2 separate regions of the Homo sapiens genome follow, and region 2 is linked to region 1. Evidence: promoter capture Hi-C in 16 types of primary human blood cells and fetal thymus (Javierre and others, 2016). All regions are on one chromosome and are shown on one strand. Each heading gives the region's core, a stretch centred on a gene start or on the middle of the fragment in contact. The rest is flanking DNA. Distances are from core to core; before and after follow the strand shown.

The links. Contacts are between HindIII fragments. The CHiCAGO score rates a contact against its expected background, and 5 or more counts as called.
Region 2: a fragment that was not itself captured here is called in contact with the fragment with the promoter of UBE2B in region 1 in 1 of 17 cell types (endothelial precursors); the score reaches 5.3 in endothelial precursors.

What each region holds. Positions count from the first base shown.
Region 1 is chr5:134,370,153-134,372,852 of GRCh38, reverse strand. It overlaps UBE2B (ubiquitin conjugating enzyme E2 B), which reads right to left and starts at 1,284. Exons shown (of 6, transcript NM_003337.4): 1 at 1,214-1,284. The coding sequence starts at 1,257. It also overlaps a transcript of CDKL3 not described here. RefSeq lists enhancers at 952-1,051, 1,992-2,061, 1,570-2,165 and a silencer at 1,472-1,521. The HindIII fragment of the contact is 3,578 bases long and covers 1,055-2,700 here.
Region 2 is chr5:134,590,314-134,593,320 of GRCh38, reverse strand. No RefSeq gene overlaps it. Among named protein-coding and RNA genes, the nearest start is that of SAR1B, 41 kb to the left of the region's middle. RefSeq lists enhancers at 309-902, 1,723-1,782. The HindIII fragment of the contact is 1,068 bases long and covers 857-1,924 here.

The sequences.
Region 1 (2,700 bases), core at 35-2,534:
TACATTATATACACACACAAATACATATGCAGTTGTTTTTCATGGGGCATCATAATTTGCAACTAGTCCACATTAAAAAAATGGTTTTTAGTCAATCTCAAGCAAATTAGGCCACCACGAACAGAAGCCTTAGAAGAACTGCACTGCTTGACGCCTACCTTTAAATGGCTAAGAGAAGCTACGAATGAATTAAATAAGTTGGCCAAATCCAAGTGCCTCACATAGGCTTTATAATAGCTGAGAGGTGACTTCCTGAGCGACAAATCTAAGTTTTTATGCTAGATATTTTGTTCAATTAGGGCAGGTGTCCCCAGAAAAAATGTTAAGAAAAATGTGCAGAGTATCAAAATGATGTTTTCTCACTTATTTTTTCTATGTCTCTAAGTATCCAATAAAAGGTAAACAACGGAATAATCATTTTCTATCTCACAACCCCAATACCTCCTAACAAAACCCTATTTTATTTACCAAAGGAGGCCCAGGGAGTATCAGATTAGCGCCAGTCTAAGGGAAGGCATTTTTCCAGACTCGGGAGGCTATAGATAGGGGCTTTCTTCACCAGCCAGAGCTGAGTTCCAGAAAGCACTGGCAGCCGGGGTGGCCAGCTCTAAGGTCCCAGATCTCTAAGTCAGTTCCCAAGGTCCTTTCAGGCGGGCGGGGACAGAGTCGGGTTTCGGGGGATGGGTTAACCTCCGGGCCTCACGCACTGGACCCCACCCTCAGGGCACAAATGGAAAGGATTGGCAGGAGTCGGGAGAGGGGTTCGCCCCAACACGGCTCCTCGGAGAAGACGGCGGGGCCGTGAAACAAAGCTGACTGGTGCTGCCGGAGAGGAACAAGCTCCCGCAGGAGCTCACTTTGAGGGGACAAGAAGGGGGCGCCGCAGGGTGCAGGGGCGGGCGGATAATGTCTGATCGCCTGGGCGAGACGCCGGGCAGCTGGCCGAAATGGGCAGCAGGGAACCCTAGACCAGTCGATCGACACCGTTTTACTTTTTGTGGGGAGGGGAAGCAGTATCAAAATTTCTTCGGGCGCCAGAACGAGCGGCAAAGCTTATGGGAGTAGGGCCGAGGCTAGGACCCGGCTTCCGCCAGTCCCGCTGGGCCCACAGCCGGCCCTCTGAGGGTCACAAAGGGGAAGGTGTCTGGGATCCACGCCCTGCAGCCCCGCAGCTTTGAGGGGCCGTCATCTAGGCGAAGGTGAAGGCCCTTACCGCTTGAAATCCCGCATGAGCCTCCTCCGGGCCGGGGTCGACATGCTCCGCAGCTGCCCCGCGGTCAGTCTGAAAAAAAAAAAGTCCCGCGCAGCCCCCCCACCCCCCGGCGCGGCGGCCGAATCACTGTGGATCGCCGCCGCCGCCGCCGCCGCCGCCGCCGCCGAGACTGACAAACAACCCTGCAATGACGTCTCCCTCCGCCGCCTCCGGATCCCTCCGCCCTCCGCCGCTACCACAGTGTGAGTGCTGGGGGAGGAGGGGGCGGGACGCGGGAGCGCGCCTTCCCCGAGCCCTTCAGCGGGGCGCGGTTCCCCCTGGGCTTCCTGAAGTAATAGACAAATTTGTGTTCTCTGTGTTCAGACTAGAGGTTGTGGATTCAAAGACCACGAAACAGAAACACTATCCCGTCTCCCTCCCCGTCACTAGTTTAGGCTCGGCGGGGTGGAGAAAGAGGGACGCATCCGGGCCAGAGATTTCAGGGAAAGGAGGTGGGATGATGTAAGATCACGTGACTGCCCGCGGCCTTGTCAACAATCCACCCCTGAGTGGGAGGGGGAGAAGTATCTAGAACCACGTGTCCCTATGACGCGTTTAGAACGGGTCACGTGAGCGCCTCGCCTGGATGTGAGTTTCAGCCAGGTCTGTGAAGCGGGTTTAAGAGGGTGAGGGCGGGATAAACCTTTATTAGTTGTTTTCTGTTTATCACAGGTATAGAGACAACATTACCCAAGAGGTCATGGCAGAATCAACAGCTTGTTTTGTTTTCTTTAAACCGGGACCAAAAATAATTCCCCTCTGGTTGGTTCAGTGGCTTATTAACTCTGGTACTTGGGGCAAGAAGAGTGAGAGGATCGCACGATCTTCTAAGGCAGCCTTGAATACTGAGGCCCACACAACAATCTCCTGAAATGGTTCCTTGAAGCTACCAGATAGTCTTTCTGCTTTGCAGTGGGGTTTCTAGTATTGGAAATTCTGGGCAAATATTAAAGGATGGTGTATTATGCAGTTTTTCCTTTCTGGGTCTGCTTTCAATTGAAGATATGTGTCAGAGTCCGGGGACTTGCCTATGGTGGGGGAGTACCATTGTATTTTTAAGGAATGTGGGGGTGCAGTCTTCCAAGCATATCAATGAGTGGTTGGTTGTCAAAGAAACCTACAAATATGATTCATATTCTGGGGGAGAGCTCCGGCAGACATGAGTGAGGGTTATATATCTAGCCTGAGATAACTTCAGGTTTTCTACACTAGCAAGAAAGGTGCAAATGGGCCAGAAGGGCCCCCCACCACCAGGGGGTTCAGAGGTGTTGACCTCCCAAAGACCTTGAATATTTTCTGTGGTCACCGTCCTTCCCTCTATTGCTTCCAATTCCTACCTTCAGGACTTTGTTATACTAAGGACTCTGAGTACTTTTGTATCCATTTGGGGAACTGTTCAGTTCAACAGGTAAAGGGAGGGTGGAATGAGGACCTTAACATTGCCTCAG
Region 2 (3,007 bases), core at 141-2,640, 220 kb before region 1:
ATGAAATGAGCTCTCACACTCTCCCCAAACTCAGAGGTCCTACAAACCACATGAGGCTTTTCAGATGAGGGCCATGAAGGAGTTAAAATTGACGGGGCAAGTTAGTGCCAATCCCATGCCCTTTCTTGACTGGATGGAAGTATTCCTGGAGGGGAGAGGAATCCCTAAGATTTACTCTCTTCTTGAGAGTCCCCTCTGATCCCCGATGCCTCTACGGGGGCATGTCTACTTCTCCTGTGACATTGGCTCACTTGAGACTCTTTTTTTTTGGGACAGGGTCTCACTCTGCCACCCAGGCTGGGGTACAGTGGTATGATCACAGCTCACTGCAGCCTCCTGGACTCAGACTATCCTCCCACCTCAGCTTCCTGAGTAGCTGGGACTACAGATGCCCACCACCACACCCAGCTAATTTTGTATCTTTTTGTGGAGATGGGGTTTTGCCAGGTTGCCCAGGCTTCACTTGTGACTCTTACCTGGATGTGGCAGAGATAAGGCCCATCCATCAGACCTCCCTCCCAAGCCTCCTAGGATGCTACTTCAGTAAGGAATGGGCATGAATATTCCAGCTGGCATTTAGGGAGCAATGCTTTGATACCAAGCAACAGGCACTAGAACCAGGCAGGCTCCCAGAGTCCCAAAATAGCAGTTCAGAGTACCCACAGGTGAAAGTTTATTTTGCTGAGTCACTTTTCCTCCTTGGCTTCTACAAACCCTTGGCTGTTCTTCTGAGTTTCATGTTAATCACAACATTCAATCCCTAGCAATGGAATGTTCCTTTTTTGCAAAAGGGGTGAGGTGAGGGCACAGGAGGGATGTCCTATTCAACTACCTCTAGCCTCTCGGGTTACAAGCTTTCAGGTGTGAAGGATGATCACAGAGCTGACAAGGGGCCTGAGTAACCCACAAGGCTGGGGAGCTGTGTGGTTTTTTGGCCCAGGCAGCTGACTGTCAGATATGTGACTGAAGCGGCTTCTCTGACCATCAGCTGTTTGCAACCAGCCCCCATCTAGGGGCTGCACCGGGCCAGTCCCTAGAGTGGAACTGACCCCAGACCACCGTTGGGCTTAGGGAGGCCCGTGAAAACTTGTAAACAAACAGGGTTTACCGGCTCAGAATCCGGGAAGTGAGAGTTGGTAAACAAATCCCTCTGGCCTCCTTGCCTCTGGTCAGTCAGCAAGTCTGTGAGTGCTCTCCTGTACCACTGTGTCCTGCCCTCCTCTAACACCTTTTGTGGCTCCTCATTTTGTCCACTTCATACCCATGTCCTCTTTGAGCCTCTCAGCCACCCTGCATGGTGGGCCCAGCAGGAGCTCTCATCCTTATTAACAAATGAGGAAACTAAGGGCCAGAATGCAGGTCAATAATTTTCCATTACCCCAAGGACAACAAAATTCCATTTCTAGCAGCTTCCTCTTTCGTGGTGGATTCATGGATAAATTCTCTAGACTTGAATGGCCACATGTTGCTTAATGTTCATTGAGAATGGAGGGAAGTGGCCGGGAGCAGTGGCTCATGCCTGTAATCCCAGCACTTTGGGAGGCTGAGGTGGGCGGATCACCTAAAGTCAGGAGTTTGAGAATGGAGGGAAGAATAAGGGGGACCACCCACTAAATACAAACCTCTAGACCCGAGGCAACCCACTTGAGCATTATCCCAAAGACAGAGGCCTCCATCCCTATCAGGGAGGCCTAGGCCCCCTTCCAAGCCTGAGGAGGGATGCCTCCTCTTCTCTTCCAGTGCCTCTAGGCCCTGCTCCATGCTTCACCGTGTCACTATCCCAGCCCGACCTGGCATCTCACCCCATGACCACGCCCATGACTAATCCTGTGCTCCTAATGGCACACTCACCTGGTGACAGATGAGTCAGCCGCCACAATGGTGTTCTGATGGTGCAAAGGTGACAAGCTGAGTGGATAAAGCTTCTTCCTTCTCTCCTCTGCCCAAGTTGTGTATGGAGGCTCACCCAGCCCCATCTGCCAGCTAGCCCCACCTCACCCAGCTGGCCTCAAGTTAAAGGGCCCTGGTGAGATAGGAGAATAGGGAATTAGGGTCACCAAGGATCAAGGCATAAGCAAAAGAACAGCAGGTGCAGCCACTTCTAGGCAAGATTAGGCAGCATACAGGCCACATCCTCACTCCTGTGATAACAAGACAGAAATTTCCACTTCAGCCTCTGATTGACCACGGGCCAAGTATCCACTTCAGCCTCTGATTAGTTGCTGGCCAATCTGTCATAGGGTATAACCAACTGGAGGCCTTTAAAGGGTACCTAGGAGTGTTACCAAATTCTTTTTTTGTTTTTGAGACAGAATCTTGTCCTATCACCCAGGCTGGATTGCAGTGGCTTGATCTCCACTCACTGCAAACTCTGCCTCCTGGGTTCAAGCAATCCTCCCATCTCAGCCTCCAGAGTAACTGGGACCACAGGCACACCACCATGCTCAACTAATTTTTTCTTTCTTTCTTTCTCTCTCTCTTTTTTTTTTTTTTAGTAGAGACTGGGTTTTACCATGTTGGCCAGGCTGGTCTCGAACTCCTGGCCTCAAGTGATCCACCCGCCTGGGTCTCCCAAAGTGCTGGGATTACAGGCGTGAGCTCTAATCCACCAGCCACCAAATTCTTTTAGTTTAATAAGAACCCTAAAGAACATTGCAATGGGGCTCTGGAGCTGCTTGCTCGAGCCTGCTCCCACTCTGTGGAGTGTACTTCCACTTCAGTAAATCACCTTCATTGCTTCTTTCGTTGCTTTGTTCTTTTGTTTCTTTGTGTGTTTTGTTCAATTCTTCGTTCAGTGCGTAAGAACCTGGACAACTCACAGTCAAGACCTTCCATCCGGTAACACTGGAAAGCTTTCCCTTGCCCTCTGACCACAGCCCCTCCCCACAGGAGATGGACTTCAGAGGTCACAGATATCCCCCAACCTCTTCTCCCATTGTACAGATGCAGAAGTATCTCCCAAGTAGCTGGGTCCATCAAGTCAGTGGCAGAGAGAAGACTTCTCGCT